Linked DNA regions of Homo sapiens: all the other regions are linked to region 1. The links are contacts of gene promoters, found by promoter capture Hi-C in blood cells and fetal thymus (Javierre and others, 2016). All regions are on one chromosome and are shown on one strand. Each heading gives the region's core, a stretch centred on a gene start or on the middle of the fragment in contact. The rest is flanking DNA. Distances are from core to core; before and after follow the strand shown. Region 1 holds the start of SLC41A2 (solute carrier family 41 member 2). Region 2 holds the start of CHST11 (carbohydrate sulfotransferase 11). Region 3 overlaps CHST11 (carbohydrate sulfotransferase 11). Region 4 overlaps CHST11 (carbohydrate sulfotransferase 11). Region 5 overlaps CHST11 (carbohydrate sulfotransferase 11). Region 6 overlaps CHST11 (carbohydrate sulfotransferase 11). Region 7 overlaps CHST11 (carbohydrate sulfotransferase 11).

Evidence for each region. The method cuts DNA at HindIII sites, captures the fragments that hold promoters and counts their contacts. A CHiCAGO score of 5 or more calls a contact.
Region 2: a contact is called between a fragment that was not itself captured here and the fragment with the promoter of SLC41A2 in region 1, in 11 of 17 cell types (naive CD8 T cells, total CD4 T cells, naive CD4 T cells and 8 more). The highest score is 8.3, in naive CD8 T cells.
Region 3: a contact is called between a fragment that was not itself captured here and the fragment with the promoter of SLC41A2 in region 1, in 1 of 17 cell types (monocytes). The highest score is 5.5, in monocytes.
Region 4: a contact is called between a fragment that was not itself captured here and the fragment with the promoter of SLC41A2 in region 1, in 2 of 17 cell types (monocytes and naive B cells). The highest score is 6.3, in monocytes.
Region 5: a contact is called between a fragment that was not itself captured here and the fragment with the promoter of SLC41A2 in region 1, in 2 of 17 cell types (naive B cells and total B cells). The highest score is 7.0, in naive B cells.
Region 6: a contact is called between a fragment that was not itself captured here and the fragment with the promoter of SLC41A2 in region 1, in 1 of 17 cell types (total B cells). The highest score is 5.0, in total B cells.
Region 7: a contact is called between a fragment that was not itself captured here and the fragment with the promoter of SLC41A2 in region 1, in 2 of 17 cell types (naive B cells and total B cells). The highest score is 6.6, in naive B cells.

The regions. Positions count from the first base shown.
Region 1 is chr12:104,956,481-104,960,232 of GRCh38, forward strand. SLC41A2 (solute carrier family 41 member 2) reads right to left here and starts at 1,810. Exons shown (of 11, transcript NM_001352171.3): 1 at 1,608-1,810. RefSeq lists silencers at 1,199-1,528, 1,719-1,988. The HindIII fragment of the contact is 5,296 bases long and covers 1-2,904 here.
Region 2 is chr12:104,455,851-104,459,602 of GRCh38, forward strand. It overlaps CHST11 (carbohydrate sulfotransferase 11), which reads left to right and starts at 1,098. Exons shown (of 3, transcript NM_018413.6): 1 at 1,098-1,679. The coding sequence starts at 1,562. RefSeq lists enhancers at 767-816, 837-916, 1,837-1,886 and silencers at 987-1,116, 1,197-1,366, 1,407-1,686, 2,277-2,416, 2,577-2,636. The HindIII fragment of the contact is 4,131 bases long and covers 1-3,752 here.
Region 3 is chr12:104,493,604-104,497,355 of GRCh38, forward strand. All of the region lies in intron 1 of CHST11 (carbohydrate sulfotransferase 11), which reads left to right. Among named protein-coding and RNA genes, the nearest start is that of CHST11, 39 kb to the left of the region's middle. RefSeq lists an enhancer at 485-674. The HindIII fragment of the contact is 4,726 bases long and covers 18-3,752 here.
Region 4 is chr12:104,560,415-104,564,166 of GRCh38, forward strand. The region is part of intron 1 of CHST11 (carbohydrate sulfotransferase 11); the gene reads left to right. Among named protein-coding and RNA genes, the nearest start is that of MIR3922, 29 kb to the right of the region's middle. The HindIII fragment of the contact is 2,784 bases long and covers 271-3,054 here.
Region 5 is chr12:104,579,880-104,583,631 of GRCh38, forward strand. The region is part of intron 1 of CHST11 (carbohydrate sulfotransferase 11); the gene reads left to right. Among named protein-coding and RNA genes, the nearest start is that of MIR3922, 9.9 kb to the right of the region's middle. RefSeq lists enhancers at 236-345, 3,014-3,063. The HindIII fragment of the contact is 836 bases long and covers 1,537-2,372 here.
Region 6 is chr12:104,596,852-104,600,603 of GRCh38, forward strand. The region is part of intron 1 of CHST11 (carbohydrate sulfotransferase 11); the gene reads left to right. Among named protein-coding and RNA genes, the nearest start is that of MIR3922, 7.1 kb to the left of the region's middle. The HindIII fragment of the contact is 6,125 bases long and covers 1-3,752 here.
Region 7 is chr12:104,643,049-104,646,800 of GRCh38, forward strand. The region is part of intron 2 of CHST11 (carbohydrate sulfotransferase 11); the gene reads left to right. Among named protein-coding and RNA genes, the nearest start is that of MIR3922, 53 kb to the left of the region's middle. RefSeq lists enhancers at 169-218, 1,116-1,165. The HindIII fragment of the contact is 9,948 bases long and covers 1-3,752 here.

The DNA of each region.
Region 1 (3,752 bases), core at 560-3,059:
CCAACCTGGCCAACATGGTGAAACCACGTCTCTACTAAAAATACAAAAATTAGCCGGGCATAGTGGTGTGTGCCTGTAGTCCCAGCTACTTGGGAGGCTGAGGCAGGAGAATCGCTTGAACCCCGGAGGTGGAGGTTGCAGTGAGCCAAGATTGTGCCACTGCACTCCAGCCTGGGTGACAGACTGAGAGTCAGTCTCCAAATAAATAAATAAATAAATAAATAAAAATAAAAAGCCAAGCAACCCAATTAAAATATGGGTAAAAGATATGAACATTTTCTCCAAAGAAAATATATGAATGGCCAATAAGCACATGAAAAGATGCTCAGCATCCCCAATCATTAGAGAAATGCAAATCAAAACCACAAAGAGATACCATTCCACACTCACTACGATGGCTATCATAAAAAATAACCAGTAAAAAAGTAACAAGCCTTGGGGAAGATGTGAAGAAATCGGAACCCTCATACACTGCTTAGTGGGAAAGTAAAATGGTACAGCTGCTTTGCTTGGCAGTTCCTCAAAAAGTGAAACACGGAGCAATTGCCCTCCTAGGTATATACCCAAGAGCACTGAAAACACATGTCCACAAAAACGTGTAAACAAATGTGCATAGCAGCATTACACACAATGGCCAAAAACTGGAAACAACCCAAATGTACATCAACTGATGAATAAACAAATGTGGTACACTGATACAACAATATTAATATGCTATAAAAAGTAAAGTACTGATACATACTACATGAGTGAAACTTGAAAACATTACAGTATGTCTTTCGACGCCAGACACAAAAAGCCACATATTGTACGCTTCCATTTATATGAGATTTCCACAACAGGCAAACCCATATAAACAGAAAGTAGATTAGTGGTGGCTAGTGGGGTGGGGTCAAGGGGAAATGAGGAGTGATTACTAAGAGAGACAGGGTTTCTTTTGGGGATGATGATCTGGATAGTGGTCATATTTGGAAAACTCTGTGAATATATTAAAAGCCACACTTTAGAAGAATGAGTTTTATGGCATGTGATGTATATCTCAATTTAAAAATTGTCACTACAAAAAAAAGATGACATATATACGTAATATACACATCAATGTATATCGGTAACACATAGATATGTGTCATCTCTCTCTGTAAATGAGCATTTGGGCTTTTAAATTTGAGATATGCTCCGTGTATATAAAGAGAAGAATGAAAGAAAAGGGTGACGGGGCACTCGCGGAGCCCTGAACAGGCATCTGGGGTGTGCCCGAGCCAGCCTCGCAGCATCTCCATCCCAGCTCACCTTCAGCCATCACTCATACACCACCCGCCGCCTGTCCCTGCCTTGGGCGCCCGGGACCGCTTGTCCGCGGTGGCCGCGGAACAGCTTCCCTCAGCCCGAGGTGGGGCAGGCGCGGGGGCCTGGGCTCGGGCGCTGCCCGGCGGCCCGGAGAGGCGTCCGCAGGGGGCACGGCTGCTCGGGCGGGGCCGCTCCCTCTGCTCCCCGCGCCCCCGCCGCCGGGTCCCGAGCCCAGGCCTCTCGGCCCCACCTCCCTCCCGCACCTGATGCGCCCGAACGCGGCGCCGCGGCCGAAGCCGAGACTTCCCCTCCATGGTCACCTGTTCCGGAGCGCGGCGGCGGCAGCGGCCGGTGTGAGAAGGGTCCCCGTCTCCTCAGACCAGACCGAGACACCAGGGGCGGGGGATGGAAGGGGCATTCACCTGGTGCCCGGCACCGGTGGTGGCGGGGAGGACAGCGGCTCCCAGCCCACAGCTCCTTCCTGCTCCCGCGCCTCCTCGCGCGGCTGCGGCCCCAAGCTGACAGCCCGGCCGTCGGCGCCCGCGGCCCCCTGACTCCCCGCCGCCCCGCCCCCGCGCGGCAGCCCCGCGCAAGCGCAGCCGCGCCGCCGCCGGGGAAGCCCGGGCCTTGGTGATGTGGCCCGCGGGGCGGCGACCCGGAGCGACAGCACCGCCCCGCCCGGACCCCGGCCGCGCCCTGGCAGACAGCTGTCGGGAACGGGGGCGCTGGATGACGGCAAGGGGGCAGTTTTCTGGGGAGCCTGCCCAGGAGAGAAGGGCTGTGGCCTCCTTCGGCATCCCTCTTCCCCACCAGCCCACGCACGCCCACTTCACCGCCTGCTCCAAGGTCCGAACCCCCGAATCCATGACTCATGATTTCTCTTCTCAGACCAGCGGCCTCTTTTTGGCTGAGGTCATGTTTCTTGCAGACTGGAGTTAAAACCGAACCACGTGTCTTTCGGCCCAGCAGCGCATAGTGTGGGCGGTGCAGGAGCCGAGACGGGCAGGAACCACCGCAGGAGGGGGTGAGGTTTAGGGCAGCCCCATAGCACCCTCCCCGTGCCAGGCAGGTGTAGGCGCCAAGCGCATGGGGCGCTGAAGAGTTGGCTGGGGTGCCAGGCTTTTCAAGTTTCCCCACACTTGCTTTTAAACCTAGATCAAACTGATCCAAAGTCTGCATGTAAATCCGAGAGCTCATTTATTTTATTTACAAAACTATTGAGCATCTACTGTGTATGATTCAGGGAATGAGACACACCCCAGGGATACTCCAGTGAACAAAAGAAAGGTGTTGGTCCGAAGACAGTTATTTTAAAAATTACACAGCTAATGCCATAATGCCAGGATTGGTGGCTCATGCGTGTAACCTCAACACTTCGGGAGGACCAGGCGAGAGGATCGCTTGAGGCCAGGAATTTGAGACCAGCCTGGGCAAACACAGCGAGACCTGGAGTGGCTAGGAGACTGAGGTGGGAGGATCGCCTGAGCCCAGGAGTTCAAGGCTGCAGCGGGCTATGATCGCATCACTGCACTCCAGTCTGGGCCACAAAATGAGACCTTGTCTCTAAAACAACAACTCAAAATTACACAGCTAATGATACTCTTTTCCTCAAATCAAAGCTTCTACCAATTCCAAGCCACACCAGTGATTTAGTAGCAGCTTTTCTGGTGCTGAAGGACACCAGCATACATTTATCCATGTTCTTTTTTTTTTTCCTTATGCTTTGCGATCAGACTTTGAGCTTTAACCTTAACCTTCAGGGTGAAGGGTGCTTCGGTATCACTCTTGGCCATCTGCAGTCATGCTTTTTATAATGACTCATCCTGGTGTTCCTCACCACCTAAAAATGAAAGTATAATTGCAAGGAATATGGAAAAGCAGTGTTTTGACTGCATTTCCAGCTGGTTTTTGTTCTGGTTGTTTTTTGAATTACAGATCATTAGAAAGTAGCTGCTCTTGAAAGTTTGGCAGAAGTTCCACCCAATATGTGTTCCTCCCCTGAGTGTGTAGTCTTTCAAGATTTCTACACAAAGCATATACAGAAGCCAGCCTGTCTTGGTTTTGAAAATTCTTCCACCATTTTTTTCTGAGAGAGCTGGTGGTTTCTACCGTCCTTCAGAGCATTACATGGCATGTGGCAGGCAACCTTCTACTTACATTCTTCATTCAGTACCGCAAAGTAGTGTGTACTTTGGAGATATGTTAAGCTTCAAGTTGGAATCCAAATTTAAATCAAATTTCAGCCCTGAAAATAACTCACATTGGAATCGGGCGAGGAAATGCCCCCTTGTAAAAAACTGGGTCCTAATGGGTGCAGACAACAACAATCCCATTTCTACTTCATCTCCCGTCTGACAGCTGGCAACTTCAAATGTGAAGCAAGTGGCTTGGACTTGAGGCTGTGTGGTGATGCTGTTGTGATTGCTGGAAAAAAGCCTGAGAGTTATGAGAGTGTATAACAAAGG
Region 2 (3,752 bases), core at 558-3,057, 500 kb before region 1:
GGCCCATTACATTCAGATTCAATAAGAATTTATCAAATGCCTATTTTGTGAGAGGCATTGAAAGACACAGTATCTTATTTCATTTTTAATTGAATTAGTAATGACTTGATAAGGCACAAAGGTTAGTCTAACTAACATTTTTTTTTTCCCTGACATACGAGTGATCCCTACACTATTGGCTGTGTCCACTTTATTGATTGTGAAACAGCCTAAATGCATGGAATTGGAAACTGGAAGTCATTCTACACAATACAAGAAAGCAGCACCATCTTTCCATGTACCTGCCAGTGCTATGGCTGGCTTGGCTTTTCCAGCAGTTTTCTGGACTTGGTTGAGGTGGCTTCCTAGGGGCATTTTCTCACCCCCTCCCAGCTAAGACTGCTGTTAATTTTGAATAATTTGGAGGATGCTCTACCCTTTGGGGTAGCAGAGTTTTGCAACCCACAGATCCCTTTTGCCTTGAGGAATGGTGGTGATGGTGGGTGTCAGAGATTCTGTCTGTATAAGTCCCCGGGAAAGCTCAGCTGTCGCCTGACCCGAGGGTCGTGCAGTTTCCTTAACCCTGACTTTAAGTCAGCCCTCTTTAACCCCGACTCCCAAGCTGGGCTGTCCTTTGAAAGAAAAACGAAACCGCCCAGTTCTGAGCGTCGGAAAATGGGCACTCGCTCCCTGGGGGTTTGGGGCAACTTCCCCGCTACGTCGCCCAGGGATTTTAAATAATTGCCAGCCACCAGAAACCCCCTAACCCTTAATTCTTCCCTCCGAGACCCAGCCCGCTGCTTGCCACTTCCCTCTCCAAACGCTGGCGGGGGTGGGTGGCAGCACCGAGGCGATTTTCTTCGTCTTTTTTTCCTCCGGGTTTTGTCATGGAAACGCTGACACAACCTCCAGACGGCGGCCGAGCCCGGCCGGGGACTGAGGGCTTTTGGGACCCTGCGGGAGCGCGGCGCGCACACCGCACTCCCCGGGCAACAGCTGGACGCGACCATATCCCGGGTAGGGGCGGGGGGAGCGCGACGCTCCGCCCCGGCGCTAGGGTCCCTCCCTCCTCCCGGCTCTCCGCAGGCGCCCTCCCCTCGCCGGGGGCCGCGAGTTGCATTTGGTAAAACCCAGCCCCGGAATATATAGATCGTTGGAGCGCAATGAAGTAGCCTTTGGAGAGAAGGGAGAGGGCCCGTCGGACAGCCACAGCGGCCAGCGCAGCGGCAGCGGCGGCGGCACCACCATCACCGCTCGCACCCCAGCCGCCCGGCCCGCGACCAGGCAGCGGCGGCCGCCGGCGGGATCGGAGGAGGCGGCGGAGCGGCGAGGAGGAGGAGCAGGAGCGCGCAGCCAGCGGGTCCACGCATCTCAGCACTTCCAGACCAACTCCGGCACCTTCCACACCCCTGCCCGGGCTGGGGGCTCCGAGAGCGGCCGCGAAGCGACTCCGATCCTCCCTCTGAGCCTTGCTCAGCTCTGCCCCGCGCCTCCCGGGCTCCGGTCCGCGCGGCGGGGTCCCTGCTCCTGCGCCCCGGGCGCGCTTCCCGGACACCCCGGTCCCCGCAGCCAGGACAAAGCCATGAAGCCAGCGCTGCTGGAAGTGATGAGGATGAACAGAATCTGCCGGATGGTGCTGGCCACTTGCTTGGGATCCTTTATCCTGGTCATCTTCTATTTCCAAAGTATGTTGCACCCAGGTAGGGGGCGCGTTAGCGTGGTTTTGTTGGATATTTTCTTCTCTCTCGCGCTCTAGCTCGCTCCGCCTGATTTCTGCCTCTTCCAACCCTACCTCTCCGCCTTCGGCCTCTTCGGGGCTCCTGGCTGCCCAGAGCTCCTGGCTGCCCAGATCTACCCGGGTCACCGCGTCGGGATGGGGAGGAGAAGGGAAGGTGTGCTTCGCCCTCTTCTTCCTACCGGCTCCGGGCTGGAGGATGGGACCAGGAGGGGCGGTAGTTTTTTTTTTTTTTTTTTTCTTCTTCTTTTTTTCTTTGTGTCCCTTGTCTGTCTGTCTGCGAGGTAGCAGGGAAACGGAGAGGTGTGGGAAGCAACCGGGGGTGAGGGGCTGGTTTGAGGAGAACGAAACTCCCTCCCTGCTGCTGCCGAGGTCGGAGGATGAAAGAGTTACCCGGAGCCGGCTGCTCTGCGCCCGGGCGAGCCGCCTCTTCCTGGTTGCCGGGCCGGGGGCGAAGGGTGTACGCCCCGGCGAGGTTGCGAGTCCCTGCAGCAGGCTGGGAGCCCGGGACTGGGCTCCCACGTGTCCCGGGCTCCGCGCAGAGCTGAGCAGGTGTGGAGAGTGGTCGGGTGCCCAGCGTTGCCCCTCCACCACGCGCCGGCCGTTTGCCCCCGGGGTCCGGCTCCGCAGTGACCTTGCGGCTGGTGCCCCGGGGCCTGCTCCAGCCCCCAGCCCTGAGCTGGAAACTCCGAGCTCCTGGGTCACGCCTTGACCACTGCAGTTTTGGAGGAAACTTTGGCCAGGTCCTGGGCTGACCGTCCGTTTGCATCCCCCACTTCTGGGATCCGAGCAACGGGAATCCCCCGGGCGGCGTGGGAATGAACCCCATTCCTCCGGTCCCTTGTGGCTCAGGCAAAGTTCCACGTCCGAAATCTGGACTGGGGGAGGGACGAGGCTCGTCGCTTCCTAGGGGTGCGAGGGAAAGTTTGGGTTCTGGAGAGGGAGGGGCGCCCTCGAGCGCGGCGGCCGGGGGTGAGCAGCTCGGCTGCGAAGCCCAACAGGTAGAACGTTCCGAGAAGCCTTCCGGGTAACGCGGGTCTCCCCGCCAAGCCGTGGCTCCCCTGCTCCCTTTTACCCTCCCTTAGCAGCCCCCTGCCGGGCCACGTTGGCTCAGAAATCCATTTTCTACGCCTCCGAGTTGCCTTTCTCAGCGTAGTCACAGCAATAATTTGCTTTTCTAATTGCAAGGAGGAGGGAGGTGGAAACGCATTTCCTTCCAGGGAAGTGGGGTTGGTGTTTTTCATTTTTGCCTCCCGCCTTCTCCTTTCACTGTGTATCTAACACTTTAAACAGACGCAGTCCCGAATTCATCAAGCCTGCGTTTGGGTCGATGGCAGAGGAATAAAGCTGTTCTTTCCATCAAACAGGCAGGGCTGCAGGCTGCAGATTCCTTGACAGCGCAGGGACAGACGGCCCCTTTGCCCCACTCGGTCTGGAGCAGTTGTTAAGGCAGCCACACTGCCAAGGATATGGTCCGACTCTACCACATGTAACCTCAGGACGTCCGAGCCAGCCCTGTTAAAGATGGCTTTTGTTTGCAGCTGGGTATTTTTAGTTTAATGTCAGCAAACTACAGCGGTGTTTGTCTCCTCACCCAAACCTGCGGTTGTGAAACTTATAAAGGAATTTAAAAATGGACCTGGCTTGCATTCCGGCAGGCAGGCCTTGGTTGCAGTGGGCAGGGCCAGACAGCCAGGGGTATCTCAGAGTGCCAAGCTCCAGGGCCCACCGGAGACCGGGCCAGACTCACCCCAGAGCGCCAGGGGACTGGTGGTGTACAGATACACTCGGGTTCAAACAGTTTAAACAAGGGGCCGGTGATTTGGTCTAGACTCTAGAGCTGTGTTCAGGTTTCGCTGGGACCGTGAATGCCAGTAATGCTCTGTACGAATGCCCAGAACACGGATGAGTGTCAGCCTTCAGCAGGAATGCGCTTGAGCTTCTGTGTACCTGTTAATTGCCCAGGGAAATACAATTGTCATGGAATTCTTTGTGAGAATTGGGAAATAACTTTCTAGCCAAAGATACTAGAAAGAAA
Region 3 (3,752 bases), core at 1,131-3,630, 460 kb before region 1:
TGAAGGCGTTCCATCAAAGCTTCCTTCCTTGCCGTCTCTACCCTTCCCTCAACTCTGGCTCAGGCAAATGCTCAAAGTGACTCACCCTGGTAGGCACGGAAAGACAAGAGAGACTTGGATGTAGAAAGACACATTTACAGTTTGTGGAGGGCCGTCCCTTCGGACACATTTCATCAGTGGGTGTGATGCTGCCTGTGGTATCACATGTGCAGCAGCAGGGTGTTCGGTTTTGTTTTTTGAGACTGGGTCTTGCTCTGTCACCCAGGCTGAAGTGCAGTGGCACCATCTTGGCTCACTGCAGCCTCCATCTCTTGGGCTCAAGTGATCTTCCCACCCCAGCCTCCCAAGTAGCTGGGACTAAACACACACACCACCATGCCTGGGTAATCTTTTGAGATCTCACTGTATTGTCCAGGCTGGTCTTGAATTTCCGGGCTCAAGCAAGCCTTCTGCCTTGGCCTCCCAAAGTGTTGGGATTATAGTGTGAGCCACCGTGCCTGGCCTAACAAGATGTCTGTATGTGAAGCCACATTCCTGGCCCATCCACAGTCACGAGGACTTGGGACTACAGGCTGGGTGACAAAATTGAGCTGATTTCCCCAAATCTCCAAGGAGATCCCCTCTGAAGAGATGCCGTGCCGATGAGAGACAGAGCCTGCACCACGAAGCAAAGGCAGGAGCTTGTGAGCTTGTGAGCTGACCCCTCTGGCCTTGGCCTCTTAGTGTCTATAGCCCGTCACTGCCTTAAAGCCACCACATCACATGTCACTGTTCTTCAACACTGCTCTTATTTGAATGTCTCAGTGATAACATCTCAGAAATGAAAAACAGGGTCTCCACTTCTGAGGATGTGACAAGTGAGTTGGAGGCAGTTTCCCAGGGGAAGGATTTTTGTCTCAAAGCATTAAAATAGAATCCGTTCTAAGTCAGAATATTCCTTTTAAAGTTAACTTCACAAAACTTCTCTGATCTTGATCCTCTTGCTAGCAGCTGACTGCCGAGGATGGGTTCCAGCGCTTCTCAGAACAATGTCGTAGGCGTATTAGCTCTGTAAGTCACCACGAATTCAGAATAATAACTGTGGGGTGGGGTGCGGGCTCACTGATTGACTCGGAGGCATCTAGAGTTCATTTTGTAAAACACTTAAACAATTCAGGGTGTTTTGTTTTGTGGGTAGATTTTTAAAAATAATTTTAAAAATGTAAAATTGTGGTTAAAAAAGCACAATGTAAACTTTACCATTTTAATCCTTTTTAAGAGTACGGGTCAGCAGTGGTAAGTATATTCATACTGTTGTGCAACAGATCTCCAGAACTTTTTTGTTTTGCGAAACTGACATGCTGTACCCACTAAGCAAACAACAACTCCCCATTTTCTCAGACCCCCTGAGCTTCCAGTAACCACCGTTCTACTTTCTGTTTCTATGAGTTTGATAACTTGAGACACTTCAGATGCGTGGAGTCATACAGTATTTCTGTTTTTGGGACTGGGTTATTTTGCTTAGCTTAATGTCCTCAGAGTTCGTCCATGTTGTAGCATGTGACAGGATTCCTTCCTTTTTAAGGCTGAATAATTCATTGTATGTGTACACCACATTTTGTTTATCTGTTCTTCAGTTGATGGGCATCTGGGTTGTTCCTGTGTCTTGGCTGTTGTGGATACTGCTGCTGTGAACATAGGTGTGTAAATATCTCTCCGGAATCCTGCTTTCAATTCTTTTGAAAGAATTGAAAGAAGTGGGATTGCCAGGTTTTGTGGTAATTCTATTTTAAATTTTTTGAGGGCCCACCACACTCTTTTCCACAGTGGTCGTGCCATTTTATATTCCTACCAACAGTACACAAGGGTTCCAGTTTCCCCACATCCTTGCCAACACTTGTTACTTTCTAATTTTATTTTTTTTTGATAGTCACAGTCCTAGTAGGTGTAAAGGAATATCTTATTATGGTTAAACAGTGTAGTTTTATTATTTATACTTCAGGTAACCAATACATAAATTAGTACTAATAAAAATTGATAACTACTATTTATTGAGTGCTTATTAAGTGTTCTAAGCATCTTGCATGACTTAATTCTCATTACATCTCTGTGAGGAAGAGGTTCCATTTTTACCCATTTTATAGATGAGGAAATTGAGGCTTGGAGAATGTAAGGAACTCATACAAGGTCACACAACGAACTGAAGCCTGTGCCTGGATTTGAACCCAACCGTCTGGCTACTAGGGTGTTCTCTGGCTTTCTTTTCCTAATTGACTATGCTCTTTAAAATTCACATCTTCAGCTGACCCATATCAAGAAAGTTATAGAAGATAATGACATCCTGACTCCTGAATGGAGTTCCTTGAAGTGCCCAGGAATGAAAACTTGGAATAAGGCCCATGCCTCAGTCATCACTGATGCCTCGGATAGCAGACTTAAGCGAGGGCTTTAGAAATAGTGGCCTAGTCTCCTAAGCCCTGGGCTTGTAAAATACTCTGTACTTTTTTGGTTTGAATTCCCTTGTTAAATGAATAATAGAAAATGTGAGGAGAGAGGCACAACATTTTTTTCTTGACACTATTCCACTTTGAGTTTGGTTTCTATTCCAAATCTGTGTGTGTGTGTGGCAGTGGGGAGGAAGGTGTGTTGATGAGTTATTGTTGCATTAGAAGGTTCACTCTTAGAGCCACCAGATTTTCTGGAAAGCCATACATGTGCTATAATGCCTGTCAAATAAAAAATCAATGTGACACAGTTGGTTTAATTTTTGTTAATCTTTATCATATTTAATTTTGTTTTTTGACTAGACCTAATAATGGGCCAGAGGCCTTTAGGCACTGTTGAAGTGACTGCTGGCCACAATTCCCCAAATCAGCTGTAATGTTTGTGTTGGATTATTGTATTAACAAATGCTTCAAATTACATTAGAAAAAAATCCGTTATGTTATTTTAAGTTGGGGGACCAATTCCACACTCACATCTGGTAATCCTATCAGTAAATAATGGCACAGGGCCATTCTAACAGGGCCAATTAAGTCTGCAGGGCCTCTCTTCACTCTTTGATATGTTTTGTGAACATTTTTCTTATTTTGGTGCTATGAAATGAAGTCTCTGTCAAGAGCTCAAGTCATAGACTAATCCTCAAAACTTTTTTTTTTTTTAAACAAGACAAAGAAAATATGAGATGTTGTTTCCTGCAACAAAATCCTAGAGAGTTTGTAGGATGTTTTATGTATGGTGTGTTTTGAGGATCGTGGAACTGAGAAATCCACAAGAATTTGCCATCCAGAAAAACTTTCCACTGGAGGTGGGGAAGAGGGGCCTGCTTGACTCCCTCATGGGCTCAGGCCTACCTCTGCAGTTATGATTGTGGATAATTTAGCCCCTCTTGCAACAGTGTGGTACTTGCTACTCTCACCTCTGACTTGTGGATGAGAATACCTGCCTCCTGGGACCTCTCCTGGATATCAAGCCCCTGGTTTCTGTCATAAGACGTTCACTTAACAGGTGCTATACCTCAAAGGACAGATATTGTCATTTTTGTTTGCTGCAGGCTTAATTTTGTTCCCCTAAAGTTCATATGTTGAAGACCTAACCCCCAGTACCTCAAAATGTCACTACATGTGGATATGGGGTCTTAAGAGAGACAAATAAATGATTATGAGGTCATTAGGATGGGCCCTAATCCAATCTGCCTGGTATTCTTGTAAGAAGAGAAAATTTGGATGCACGGAGGCACCACGGTTGTGCACGCACAGAGGAAAGGCCTCATG
Region 4 (3,752 bases), core at 413-2,912, 400 kb before region 1:
GGGGTTCATGGTACCTTCTAGGAATTCAGTCTTTGATGGGGTGAATTTGATGTGTGCTATTCAAACTCAAAAACATGGATCAGCACCGGGAAGCATCTTGAGATAGGGGTGGGAAGAGACGGTCATACCTCAGCAGGCAGCATTAGTACTTTATGGTACTTTATAATTGGGCAGCAGAAAAGGCACAAGACTTGAATTTGAAAGATAAGGTTTCTAGTTCCAGTTCCTCCACTTATGGAGTGGTCTTGGATTTGTCATTTAACCTCTACAAGCTTAGTTTCTGCAGGTGATGTCCTTGTTCTGCTTTTCCATAGTGAATCTGAAAACCCTTTGCAAACTGTTGCTGCTACATCCTCCATTATAAACCCTTCTATTAGACTGTGAGCTCCTTGAGTATGGGGGCTGCATTTCACGCATTCTGGGTCTCTTGGAATTAGCAGAATGCCAAGGTGCTCACTGGATTTGCTGTGAATCGAATTCTGCTGTGACATTGCTGTGGTCAGCCATGTCTTCCGGGGACAGAGTCTGCAACAGAAGTGTCACATAACCTGGGAGAAGAGTGCTCAAATTGGAGCTGAAATTCTAGCTCAGTGACTTAGAGGGGCTTGGCTTAGACTAGTCACTTAACTTCCTTATGGTACTTTTTCCCATCTGCGAGATGAGTAAGATAATTTTACCAAACTCATGTGCTATTTGTGAGTGTCAGATGAAGAAACATGAGTGTATTAGGTTATAGGACTGGCTGCTATTCCATGGCAACCAGATAGCAATGGCTTTCAGAAGATGGGAGTTCATCTCTCACTAAACAGTCCTGACATGGCCTGATGTGGCGACGCCATGGCATCAGAAGCCCAGACCCCTCCCATCTTGTTGTTCTGCCCCCACACTGAGGGTTGACCTTATCCATGTAGCCCAGGATGGCTCTCCACTACATTCTTATCCCTTGCAGGGAAAGGGGGAACAGTGACAAAGGGTGTCTTCATAATCCCATTGGCCAGAACTGGGCCATGTGGTGTACTTCTTGTTCAAAGGGGTTTTTAGCTGGTCTTTATTCTAGGTACCAGCGTGCCTGACTCAGTTTCTAACACTATGAAAGAAGGCAAGACCAGGTTTTGGGGAACAAGTGAAGTCTCTGCCACAGCAAAATAAAAGATAATTCTGAATTTTGAAGTGGAATGATTCAGGGCTCACCCACAGCTTGAATTGGAAATGATTTGATTCTGCTGGAGTCTAATGGAAAACAACGCCCTGTATCTTCTGTATTATTATTGTCATTGAATGCTTGCTTGGTGCCAGCCACTGCGCTAAGGGTTTCATAGGTGCTATTTCTGGTTAATCCTCACAACGGTCTTACTGCGTAGGTCCCATTATTAGGTCCATTTTTTTTTTTTTTTTGAGACAGAGTCTCACTCAGTCGCCAGGCTGGAGTGCAGTGGTGTGATCTCGGCTCACTGCAACCTCTGCCTCCCGGATTCAAGCGATTCTCCTGCCTCAGCCTCCGGAGTAGCTGGGATTAGGGAGACTGAGGCTTAGGGAAGTCAGAGGAGGGATTGGAACTTGGGAATGCTGGACTCCAGAGCTCATACCCTCAATAGCTCCTACTGCCCAGTCTCCTGGTTCCAATCTGGTGTTTCTGCTCTGGATATATCTAGTTTTTCTGCCCCCACCTTCCTGGCTGGGCCTCGTTTCCAGAAATGCCACTGACATGGAGGGGACACTAGTGCTCTGGTTGGTGTTGTTCCTAGCAGCACTGTCATCCACCCGAAATGGAATTGATTCGCAGAAATACGGGTCACCACGGAGGAGCCTGCTCATGCTGGTAGGAGAGGGCTTAGGTCCCACAGAGGTCAAGTGGGCAGGGTTAGGAAAACCAGCTCTAGGTGGACAGATATGATTTGGGAATTACCATTTCGAAGGGATTTAGACTTCCTACTGCCTTTGAGGGTCACCTGCAGCTCTGTAAACACAGAGAAGATGAGGCCATCTTCCCCCTGCACCTGAGTTACTCTGGTAGGAAAAAGCGCAGAGCCCGTAATAGTGGTCAGAGCCTTTGCTTGAGCCTTCCAGAACCTTCCCTGGCCCAGAGCAAAACTCAAAAGTCTCCTCAGGCTAAAGTGACTGCACTTTGTCCTGTTGGCAAATTGGTTGGTTTAGTGTGTTTAGAATTCAGCACCCATTTCTCAATGATATCAAAATCATTATCCAACGAAAGGTGATCGTATCCTGGTTTAGTTGCAAGATTTTAGAGCTCAAGGGGGCTTAGGCATTATTAATCCAATCCTTATCTCACAGAGGACCAGAAAGCCTGCCTGCCGGGCCTGCCCAGGGTCCGGTAGCTACGTTGAGTTAGGGCTGAGTCTTTGGGGGCCCTACCTGAGCATGAGGGACAGGACTTTGTGAATTCTCATATAGGCAACAGAGGTGGCAATTCATGACGACTGGACATTTGTCTGCCTCTTGGCACCTTCTCAAAGCACATAATGGGTTAAAGGGGCATTCTTGATTCTCCACTGTGTTGGCTTACCATTTTGGTGCCTCAGTTTCCCCATCTGTGAAATGGGTATGGTAGTAACAGAACTCACCTCATAGAGGGTTGTTGTGAAGTGGTTTTTTTTGTTGTTGTTGTTTGTTTGTTTGTTTGTTTTAGATGTAGTCTTGCTCTGTTGCCAAGGCTGGAGTGCAGTGGCATGATCTTGGCTCACTCAACCTCCGTCCCCCCGGGTTCAAGTGATTCTCGTGTCTCAGCCTCCCGAGTAGCTGGGATTACAGGCGCTCACTACCAAGCCTGACTAATTTTTGTATTTTCAGTAGAGATGGTTTTGCCTGTTGGCCAGGCTGGTCTCGAACTCCTGACCTCAAGTGATCCGCCTGCCTCGGCCTCCCTAAGTGCTGGGATTACAGGTGTGAGCCACTGTGCTCGGCCATTGTTGAGCTGATGGTGTCTGCTGTGCTTAGACCGTGTCCAGCATGAGGGAAACACTCAAAGCAGTCGTTGTGATCACTTCCATAGTAGCCTTTTTCACTCTCGCTCAAGGGGCTGTATGCTCCTAAGAAAGCTTGGGGATCTTTGTCTCATTCATCTTTGTATTTCCTAGGTCACATCATCCATCAGCTTAAAAACTTTTTTGTTTACCTTGACTATCTCCAGTGTGCCATGCATGAATTCTTCAACAGTCATAATAGCCTTTTCATCCATAAATGTAATTTTAGCTTGTTTAATAGCCTCGCAGAACATGACCTTTTCCATGATAAATTGGCAGGAAATAAACCCATCCTTCTTCCATGGGGTAGACTGTTGAGATGGTGGGGGTTGGTGTTCTTGTTCTGGATCTGGTGGGAGTGGTTGTGGATGTTTGCTCTTGGTGGTTTTCAGCGCACATGTAAGGGGCTTTCTGGGGTTGTATGGTTCGGGAGGGGTTTGGAGTAGGCTCTGCTTGGCCCTGGAATGGGTCAGGTGGGGAGCGTTTCTCAGTTTCTTATAGGTGCTCAGTTGTCATTTGACTCCACAGCCTGCTCTTAGTTACCCTCTGTGTAAGTGGTTCTGGGGTCTGGCACTACTAAGGTGTGGCTGGAATATGTTCCTGGGACAGTTATTTGAGATCTACGTGGAGACACCCAGGAGCATCGAGGATCAGGTAGACTCAGTCTCTGCCCCTAGGAGCTCTAACAAAACCCTGTTTCCCCCTAGTCTTCCCCTTTTCTGCAGCTCCAAGGATGAGCACCCCCCAGAGTGGGCTGAGACCTGAGCTTCC
Region 5 (3,752 bases), core at 705-3,204, 380 kb before region 1:
AGTGATGCATTGGATCCTCTGCTGCTTCTGAATCATCTGGGTTAATTACCGTACTCTCCACCAGCTTTGGTCATCAAGGAGCACACAGAATCATTGCTTATAATTGAAGACTGTGGACAATGATCACATAAGATCATCCCTAAGTTACCAGTCCCTTTTATTCTAATGGACATTTGAAGAAAAAGGCCTGAACTTTCAATAAAAGCGTCGTCTTTTTGCTTTCAAGGCCCTTCAGCTAGTTCATTAGGGGATTGAAGCCAGACATCATTTGTGACTTTCCCCCTACATTTGGGGAATGGGGGATAGAATATCTTTTGTGGTTTTTGTTTACAAGAAGGAAGATTTCAGGCTTGAGCTGGAGTACGAAAGGAAATTGAAACTAAAGATTGGGTTCTGGATTTGACTAAAGTTTCTAATATTGTTCAGCCACAATAAAGCCAAAAGCGTTCACTGTATGCTCTGGCTGATATAGTAAAGCATGGGCATTTAAGAAAAGGGTTAATTAGGTCAATTAGATTAGATGTTAGGCTGCCTGTTTCTAAATACCATGGGATGTAATTTATTTCAGTGGAGCTTTAAGCCCTCATGCATGGTAGACATGTCGATTATGGATAAATTAAAGGCAAAATAAATGAATATTCAGTATGTCAGACACAATCAGAGAATGGTAGAAAAATATGTAACTTAACTTTCAACCTCTATAACAGCTAGGATTGTGCCCCATGCAAAGCTTCCTGGAAGTTTGGGAGCCCAATTTTTTCTCTCTACTTGTTGTAATTTACTTCTAGGATATAGCTGGGCCAGGAGGATTTTGTCAAGAAATGGGTGCTCAGTCTTCTGAGGCTCCATACTTCAGTTGGAAGGAAGGGGAATTTTCATATTTCTTGTTTTCTTTTTTTGTAGAGACGGGGTTTCAAGTCCAGGCTGGTCTTGAACTCCTGGCCTCAAGCAATCCTCCTGCCTTGGCTTCCCAAAGTGCTGGGATTAAAAGCATGAGCCACTGCACCTAGCCTGGGTTTTCATATTTCTTATAATTGTCTCAGAACTTTCAGTTCCAATACACTCATCGTGAAAAGCAAGTGAAGCCTTGAATATTGATGTTTATTGAGATCAGGACAAAGTGAAAGGCAAAAATCTGAGTGCCTTTTCTGCCTTTTCTGGTGTTTTTCTGGCCCTCCTGTTCTGTCCTGATTTCTGTCCCTGAACTCCTGACCTTGGACATGCAGGAGCTACTTCTCCCATCAGCCTTTTCTGAGTAGAACCTCTGATAAATGGATGCTTCTTGCATCCTTATCCTTGAGGACTTTGGACTCTGATCCCAAGGGTGTTGGCCTTCATTAGCTTCAGGGTGTTGACTTGCATTAGCTTCTGCTGGGGGAACAACCTCAAGCTTGGCCAGGTGGCAGATATCTGGAAGTCTTCATGACATACTAATATTTGTTGAGATATTAGTACTATCTATGTTTATATATGTATATCTGTGTTTATGATTCAAGCACAGCTGTGTCAACTGTTTAACAAAGTTTTATGGGAGAAAGCTTGATAATTGAGGAAAATTTATCCCTATTTATTTATTTGAACCACAACTTCTTGTAGTTTTTCAGACTTTGAGAAAGCTGGTTATGATTTGATGTAGTGGCCAAACATTGTCGAGTGACTGGAAACCGTTGATTTAAAGGAACACTGCCTGGGATTTCTGGCCTCAGTGAGGGCTGAGGCAGTTATTTGGTGGGCAGGAGGGTGGGGAGGGTCTTTCTGGGTACTGCTGAAGACCCACTACCTCTGTCTAACCTGACAGAGACTTCCCCAGCTGTTCATGACATCCAGGGCAGTGACCTTGGCTGTGTGAGGAGTGGCTCGGGCACAGGTGGTCTCAAAGGGCCTGTTACCCTGGAGCTGCCTCCCTGCATCTTAGCAAGCCTCAGAAGGCACAGGGCATTTTGATGCTGTGGCACTTTGCCATTTGAATTTGAGGAGATTTGTCTTGGCTTGGAAAACAAAGCATTCAACTTGTAGCAAACTAAAAGAAAAAGGAAGAGAAGTTGAGAACAAACACTCCATCCAGGAGTTTGGGCTTTGAGATGGGGATGGGGATGGGACGGAGGGAGGTGGAAAGGAAGTAAGGGATGCACTACGTCATTATCGTCAGCATCATCATTCTATCCTTATTTCATCCAGTCTAAGAAGACTATGGTTGTAGGATGCATCCTTATTTGCGAGAAATTGAAATATGGAAATGTGCGCCTGAGAGTTGTGGCAGCCAATGCACTCAGTGCTTTCCGCTCATGTCCTCCTCTTAATAACTTTATCAGGCAGGTTCTCTCATTATTTCCATCTTATTGGTGAGCAAACTGAGATGCAGGGGGTTAAGAAGCTTGCAGAAGATCACTCTGCTGGCCAGTGGAGGGGCCAGGATTTGAGGCAGGAATTCTAACACCCTTAGAGCCTACCCTTGGCTACAGTGCTCTGCTCCTGAGCAATGAAATCAGCGTTGGGGTAGTCATGTGTGTGTGCGTGTGTTTGTGCTTGAAGACTTTGATGTCAGCATTTTGACCAGATGTGTCAGACAGATATGTTGCCCCTGCCCCATCACCTTTACTGAGTTACTTAAACCCCAGGCCCCTGTTTTCATGTTATTATCTTTACTAAGGGATGCAACTGGAGTTTAAGTTCTTTCTGTGCATTTCACGTCCCCTCTGCACGCCCTTCTCATGGGGCCAATCACTGTTGGGAACACTCAGAGATAATAAACATTTCCCTGCTGTATCATCCTAGAGGATCTGTCATTTATTAACTGTGTACCGTTGGCAAGAACCTCTCTGCACTTGTTTCCTCATCTGTATGATAGAAATAATACATCTCGGGATGGTAGTGAGGAAGGGAGGGTTATATAAAATGACTTCCACTGAAGTGCCTGCCTGGCATTCAGCATTGTATAGAGCCGGAACTCCAAATGTCTTCTGCTTGTACCTGTTTTCCTTCTCCCCAAGTCACCCAGCTCACAGGTGGCCGCAAGCTCTGAACTGGAACTGTTTCTAACACATCTGGCTGCTTCCCCTAGAGACAGACATGCAAATAGCTTCATATCCTCTTGTAGCTGTAACCATTTGCAGACACCTTATTGTCTTACAGCTTTTTAATTTGCCTGCACAAATAGACCTGCCTGGCCAACTTGGAGGGAATTTTAATATCTAAGTGCGGCCACATACATATGTGTTGTATACTGGGGCCATGCCTTCCTGCTTATCAAGGCAACAGAAATCTTGTACATGGTTTTCTTACTTTCTGGATAAAGATGGGACCTTGTCTCTCCATTTTGTCATAACACTTTTTTATCTTTACTTTAAGATGAAACCCTCCTTAAAATTGTGAGTGTTTCCCTGGATTTCCCTGGGGAGAAACCACTACAGTGGCTTTGATTCTTTTTCCCCTCCTTGGGATCATTCTGATCCCATTCCATATCTTTGGAGGGTCTATGGAATGGGGCTCAGCTTTGCATCTTGGATTCACAAGAAGGGAAGCAGGGAGTGAGGGAGATTGGGGGACCGTGGGCGTGTTTCATCAGATGCAGCTCCAATGGCCTTTTCCCTCTGACCATATTTCAACAACCACACTTGACACACAGCCTAGCCTCCCCCAAAGCTCACGTGTGCACCCTCTGCCCCTGTCTGGGGCCTCCCCTATTCATTTTCAGATCGATTCTGACACCTGCTTTTATCTCCCTTACCCCTTCAGCACTTCTTGATGGCAGC
Region 6 (3,752 bases), core at 831-3,330, 360 kb before region 1:
CATGTAAGGTCTCCGAGTTTCTTCTGTAAATCGAGGGGATTGGCCTATACTCGAATCCCTTGGAATTCTGAATGTCTTTGGTTTTAGGACATGCGTGAGAGGCAAGTTCCTACTCAGGGTCCCACAGTATTTCAGTTCTATGTCTTCAGACCTGAATTAACAATCCAGCATCTCCCCTGCATTCCAGCAGCACTGAGAGGGGTCACAGGGAGTCGCCCAGAGAACCAGGTGGGCTTCATTCCTTTGTCCTGAGCCAGCTCTCCGTGGGCTGCTCTCAGTTAGCAGACTGGGAATGGAGTGTCCACTTGAAAACAACGTGCTCTTCATTACAATGAAACAAACACGAGCGGCTTGAGTTTAATTTTAGCTTCATTTATGTATCGTGGGAGATATAGAACTGTTCCTGGGTCCAAGAAATCATACTGTAAATTGAGCTAATTAGATTCTTTAAAAAAAAATCTTTAATCCCATTGATTTGAGTTTAGAGAGGAGAAAACAAGTGTTGTGGCTAAATAAAACTCCCAGTGGGCGGGGTGGACAGCAGAAGCCTGCCGTTAAATGTCCTCAGGGCCTCAGGGATTTCTTTTGCGGGGCTTTTGATCATCAGACCTTTCATTTTTCAAAGGAAAAAAAAATAACCATAGCCTAATGCTACTGGCAGTTTTCTCCTTATATAGCAAGAACCAAACCTCTCTGATGCTCTTAAAGGAAGTGTTAAATCTTCTATCATTCATAAACCTTTTGAGTACCTACTACGTGCCAAGCACCACAGCAACAAATGAATAGGTTAGAGAGAGGCTCTATCCCCAAACCCAGTGCCTGGCGAGTTGCCCTGCACATCGTAGGTGCTTGATAAAAACTTGTCGAATGAATGAGTGTAATGAAACCATTAATTAATAGTTTGCCATCACAGCATTTTGATGAATCCTGTTGTATTTTGGACTTGTCCTGGAAGTGGCCAGCCAACCAGGTCTCAGGCCAGGAGGAGACTAGGGAGATGTTTGACTTACCTGTCAGTGAAGAGGTGACCCAGTGTGGCAGCTGAGACCATGGGCTGTCTAAGGCAGAATTCTGTCTCCACCTCTTTCTAGTCATGAGACCTGGGCAAGTTACCTAACCCTGCCATGCCTCAGTATTCTCATCAGTAAAGTGAGAATGGTAGTAGTACCCGCACCATGGGACTGTTGTGGGGATTAAATATGTGAACTGCTTGGCGAAGCATTGGTGCCCTCTAAAAGTTAGCTGCCACCATCTGGGCCTTGGTTACTCAAACTTCCCTAATGCCACTTGTAAGATACATGTGAGGTGAATATACTCATGTGCATAATTGCTGGTCCTTCCTTTGCATCCCAGGCAACAGAGTAGGTCCTCATTGTTACCATTTACATATGACTAGCCCAGAAGTCATTTGTGGCCCCTGGAAACCAAAAGCCCCCAGTGGTCTAAACCTGAGAGGGTACAGTGGAGCTCAGCTTCTAGGGAGGGTCCGAACCTTCGCACAGCATCAGCAGTAGGAGATGTTCTACAGCTCTTATTGTAGATGCTACAGTGTCTTCTGAGGTAGATGGAGCCAGGTTGTGTGGAAATTGTTTATTCTGTAATTGGATGCTCAAGAATCAGAAAGCATAAAGAGTATAATTTGTGTCTCTCTTCCCCATGGTGGGGAAGTCTTATTAAAATGCAGATTCCTGGGCCTTAACTTCCATCTCCCCCTCCTTCTGATTCAACAACTCTGGGATGAAGCCCAAGAATGTGCCCAGAAATCTGCTTTTTTAACAAGCAATATCATGGGGAAAGTGAGTAGGGCACACGTTGAGAAACTCTAGTTTTTGGAACATGACACGGAGGATTTGGGGAACTTTATCTTTTCTTGACTCTCCTTCTCATCCTTCCACAGATCACTGGGCCCCTCCTGAGTCGTCTGGCTCCTTCTTTCCTCTTGGGGAGAGATAAAGTGCTGGCCCAAGCCTCCCACCCTGGTGGGTGGGGTGGGCCTTGACTCAGTGGTCTGTATCCTCGTGGCCAGCTGGCCTAGCTGAGTTGGGAGGTGACCCTCACCTCACAGGTTGGGCAGCACCTGTCAGTCTCGAGGCTCAGCTTGGCTCCTTTCCACTCACATGACCTTGACCATGGCCAAGTGCCTGCAGCTAAGGGAGGCGCGGAGGGGTTATCTGTAAAATGCAGGTACTTCCTTTACCGTGGGAAGGATCACACTGCACCGACTGCCTGTTGCATAGCGAGCACTCCAGAAACGGTGGGGTTGTTATCATTCCCATAAAAGGCACACAAGGCCCCTTTAGCTTTTGTGGTCTGGGGAGCCAAGGCCGGTTCCCATGGCACCCAGTGAAGTCACGGGCAGGGCTGATGGCTGTGGGCAAAGAACCCAAGGTTCAGGCCCCACACGGTCAAAGCATTTTAAAGGCCTTGTATTAGACAAATAAACCAATTAAATAATACTGCCCCCCATAAAAGCAGACTTTTAATGGATTCCATGGTAGGCTTTTCACCGCGCGGTCCCGGAGCCATGGGCCTCGATGAGCCCGTCTGCCGCCATAGGGAGAATTTAATCTTGCCCGGCATGGGCATAATTTTACGAGTTTTATGGCTGTTTTTACTTCTCCGAAGTGTTGCTATGTCATTGTGCACCAAGGGCAACTTGCGTGCATTTCACAGTTTACCTCCTTTTTGGTGGAAATGAAAAATGAAGTCATAAATTAAAGAAAAACACAACATAGAATTTTTTTCCGTCTTCTTGGGGCAACTGGAGGAACAAAGAACCAGTGTTTCTCTGTACAGCCTGATCAAATTCTAATGGCTTTAATGTATTGACATTTGCCTGCGATTCCCTCCTCCCCAGGGAAGACTGTGGGCATGTAGCTATGTTTGGAGCTTGTACTACTGACCCCGAGAAGACCTGGGGCAGTTCTCTAGGGCAAGGGTTGGCAAACTCTAGCCCAAGGGCCAAATCTGGCCCACTGCCCATTTTTGTTCATTGGTGGAAAAAACTCAAAAGAAGAATAATATTTTCTGACACATGAAAATTAGATGACATTTTCCCAGATTTCCCTGTTCATCAGTGAAGTTTTGTTGGCACCCAGCCACACCCATTCATTTCTGTATCGTTTGGGGAGGATTTCACACCACAGTGGCCCTGCGGAAGAGTTATGACAGAGACTGCAGGGTGCAAAGCCTAAATACTGTTTGGCCCCTTACAGAAAATTTTGCTGACCCCTGCCCTAGGAAGTCAAGGAAAAGGAAAGAGAAAACATGGCATCTTGTTTCTGGGCATTGATGATTGACTTTCAGAGTTTCCACGTGGCTCAAAGTGACAAGTCAACGGAGGCTCACCTGAGCAGTAGTTTTTCCTCCGGAGACCTTCCAGATGTCATCAGCTGCTTTTGGATGACTCTCCTCCCTTTCCTGACCTCAGATTGACTTCTAAGCAGAGGTCCCTGGGCTAACCCCCTGCAGCCAGCCCTCCCAGTCATTTGAGCTGCACCCTGCTTGAGGTCTGGTCACTCCTCATCAGTCCCCTTGATAGCCACAAATAGAGAAGTTCCCGCCTTCCTCCCAGGGGGATCTAAAATAGCTTCTGAAATTTGTCACCAACACTTTTAAACTGTGGCTTTTGGCCAGGCACAGTTTTAAGCATTCTGCACATAGTAGTTACTCATTTAATCTTCACATCCAACCCAGGAAGTTAGATGCCCCTGTCATTCCCATTTTACAGACAAAGAAGCAGAGACACAGAG
Region 7 (3,752 bases), core at 341-2,840, 310 kb before region 1:
CATGGTGGTGCACACCTGTAATGCCAGCACTTTGGGAGGCTGAGGCGGGAGGATCACTCGAGGCTGGGAGTTCAAGACTAGCCTGGGCAACATAGTGAGACCCCTGTCTCTACAAAAAAATTAAAAAATTAGCTGGGCATGACGGCACATGCCTGTAGTCCCAGCTACTTGTGGGAGGCTGAGGCGGGAGGATAGCTTGAGCCCAAAAATTTGAGGCTGTAGTGAGCTATGATTGTGCCACTGTGTTCCAGCCTAGGCAATAGAACAAGACCCTATCTCTTAAAACAAAGCAAAACAAAAAACCGCAAACCTTGTTGTTGCTCCTCACCACCCATTTTAGAGATGAGGAAGCAGAAGTTTGGAGGGTTAGATACGTCAGATGCAGAGATGGGGTTCTACCCTGTGTTTTCAAAGTCCAAGTCTTTCCCTCTGTACCATGGTAGGGGCAGTGTGCCACTGTAGTGGGTAGCGTGTTTGTGTGGGATTATCAGTAACAGATTTCTTCCAATATGCTCTTTTCAAGAACTCCAGCACATTTAGGGGATTTCCATTTGAGGAACTTAAGAGGACATTCAGAGACTTTTTCTTCACACACACACACACACACACAAAGTTCTCATGACTTTTTTTTGTTGTTGCACTTGAGGAGTTTTTCCTATCTGGAAAATTCCTTTGCCTGGAATGGCTTATTCTAGATCAGGGATGGAAACATCAGTTGTGCCTGAGAATCTGGTCTGGGTCTCATGAGCGTGTTTTCCAGCTCCTGGAAAGCCAAGACTTCACTGTTTTAACCCAGGGTAAGAAGGGACCTCTCTAGAACATTTCTCAGCTGTCATCTCATAAAGAGACTTGTCAAACCTGATTCCTCTGGTACCAAGAGGAAGCAATTTGAATTTTCTTATTTCCTCTGGAGTTTAGGGGTGCAGTTAGCAAACAAAGGAACCTCTTAGGTCTCTCTGCCTTTGCTATCTGCTAGTGGAGACTGCTTTTCTTGGACGGTTTCTGCAAGGAGCTGTCCGGCCAGTTGTGGATTGGCTCACGGGATGGAGAACTGCTTCCTCTGAAGAGAGGGACTTCTGCTTCCTCCTCACTGTGCTTATTGCTGCTCAGAGGCTGCTGGGAAATCTCTGCCGCAGCCACCCTCCCAGCGTGCACCTCCTGGATATCTGTCCATGGAAGCTCCTGGACACCCCCTACCTTCCCTGCATCTGGGTGGACTCCCGCATGCACTTGCTGCATTTCGTCTCAGGTTGCCTTTTGACTCTCCACCGCTTATGATTCCACTCGGTGGCCTCCCTACTGATGTCTTTCCTCAGCCATCTTGTAAGTGGTTTCTCCTTGGTTCCAGCCCTCACTGAGGCCAGATTCTGTTTCCTGCCTTCAGTGTCTAACGTGTGGCCAATCCTCTTTCTTCAAAGGCAGAGTGGCCCTGCTTGCATCTGCCAAAAAGACACACCTGGGCTCCCTGCAGCTGGCGTGGTGCTGCCTGGGCATCCTGCCAAGCCAGCATGCCCTCTTTCTAGGGGAGCTTTCCTGCTTCTGGTTTTCAAATCCTTGAAGCAGCACTGGGGAGGCGATGAAGAGGGTCAGGTTTGGAGTCTCTGGCTGAGTCCTGGCCCTGGCCCTGGCAGGCAGAGTGCAGCTGGGGTGGTTCTGTCTCAGAGCCCGGTGGCAGACTGACCAGTGTAGGTAGGGGAAGACTGGCTGGACCTCCATCTCAGATCTGTCCCTTGAAAGTAGGGTTGGGATGAGACCCCTTAGAGGCTTCAGTCTGGAAGATAGTGCAGGAGCAGAGCTGGTAGGATTTGCTGTAGAGACCAGCCCTGTGCTGGAACAGGCCCATGGCTTATCTGCATGAAACCTGAGGACAGATCACTGCAGCGAGCCTTCTTCCACTTTTTTTGTTTTGTTTTGTTTTTTGAGACAGAGTCTTGCACTGTCATCCAGGCTGGAGTACAGTGGCATGATGGCTCACTGCAAGCTCTTCCTCCCAGATTCACGCCATTCTCCTGCCTCAGCCTCCCAAGTAGCTGGGACTACAGGCACCCGCCACCACGCCCGGCTAATTTTTTGTATTTTTAGTAGAGACGGGGTTTCACCATGTTAGCCAGGATGGTCTCGATCTCCTGACCTCGTGATCTGCCCACCTCGGCCTCCCAAAGTGCTGGGATTACAGGCGTGAGCCACCACGCCCGGCCTTCCACTTTTAAATTAATAATAATAGTTCCCATGGTTGGAGGGCACCCACTCTGAGCCAGGTACTTGGCAATAATCCTCTGAGGTGGAATCTGTGATTCTCATCCCCACCATACAGGTGAGGAAACTGAGGCTCAGGAAGTTAAAGAACTGACCCAACAGAGAGCCAGGGGGCTGGGCCAGGACTGGAGCTCAGGCCTCCTATTCTGCTTTGCAAGAAATATTTGTGTTGGAAGCCCAGCTGGGCTTGTTGGAAAAGCAACCTGCAGGTGGGGGTGGGCACCGCAGTTGTCTTTATTTTGGCCCCTTCTGAGTTTGCTGTTTGTCTGCCTGGGCTCTGGGGGGCCCTTCCCACCCACTCACCTTCCCCTGCTGGTCCTGGCCTCCAAGGGCTCCAAGTCCTTCCCCCCCACCCTCCCCTTGGCTTAGCTGTGGACTAATCCCTTTTCCCATTAGGTGAGCCAAGACAAGATTAGAGCTTTATTAAAAGGAAATTAAACTAGGAAATGAAAGGATAAACAAACCTCAAACAAGAAAAAACAACAGCACCAAATAAGATGAGTTGACAGAGCACCACTCTTTATCCTAAAGGGTATCCATCTACCTACAAATTAGGGTGTGGCTCCCAGTGGGGCCATCATCTCTTCTTCCACCCTCACCAGCTCTGCCTGTCATGATCAAGCTCGTCATCATGGTGGCTTCAGCAAACATGTTCTTTGGGGACCTTGGTGATGGCACCATACTCTCCAGCGCTTTGCTCACACTAGCCCCTCCCCTGATTTCTTTCTGAGTCCCGCATGCAGGATGCTGCCGGCTCAGCCAGTGCCTCCCTGGTGAATGGACCCAGGTAATGGCTCCCATGCTGGCTTCCCCTACAGGGGAGAAGTTGCATTTCATATCCTCTATTCCACTTTCCAGGGCCCTGCGAGATCCACTCCCCGCATCCCGTTAGTCTGCCCTCCTTCCATGCCTCGCTTCCACCCCACTTTCTCCTCCTCCTTTTCTCTCTTGCTGCAACCTCTTGGTGGCCTTTGCTGGCAGTGTTCCTCCTCTCACCTCCACTTCACTTGGCCAACACCTACTTAGTCTTCAGACCTTGTCTTAAATGTTGCTTTCTCAGGGTACCTTTCCCTAACCTCCCTAAACTGATTTCTCATGGAACCCTGGAGTTCACCTTCATCGTAGTGGTGATTAAACCATTATTTCTGGCCGGGTGCAGTGGCTCACCCCTGTAATCCCAGCACTTTGGGAGGCCGAGGTGGGTGGATCACGAGGTCAAGAGATCAAGACCATCCTGGCCAACACGGTGAAACCTCACCTCTACTAAAAATACAAAAAATAGCTGGGCATGGTGGCACGTGCCTGTAGTCCCAGCTAGTTGACTACAGAGGTTGCAGTGAGCCGAGATTGCGCCACTGCACTCCAACCTGGCGACAGAGCAAGACTCCGTCTCAAAAAGACAAAATAACTTATTATTTCCTTTGCACCCCTCTCCCGTCCCAGACTCTAAGCTCAGTGAAGACCAGGACCAATGTGCCAGGCTCAGCGCTGAATCA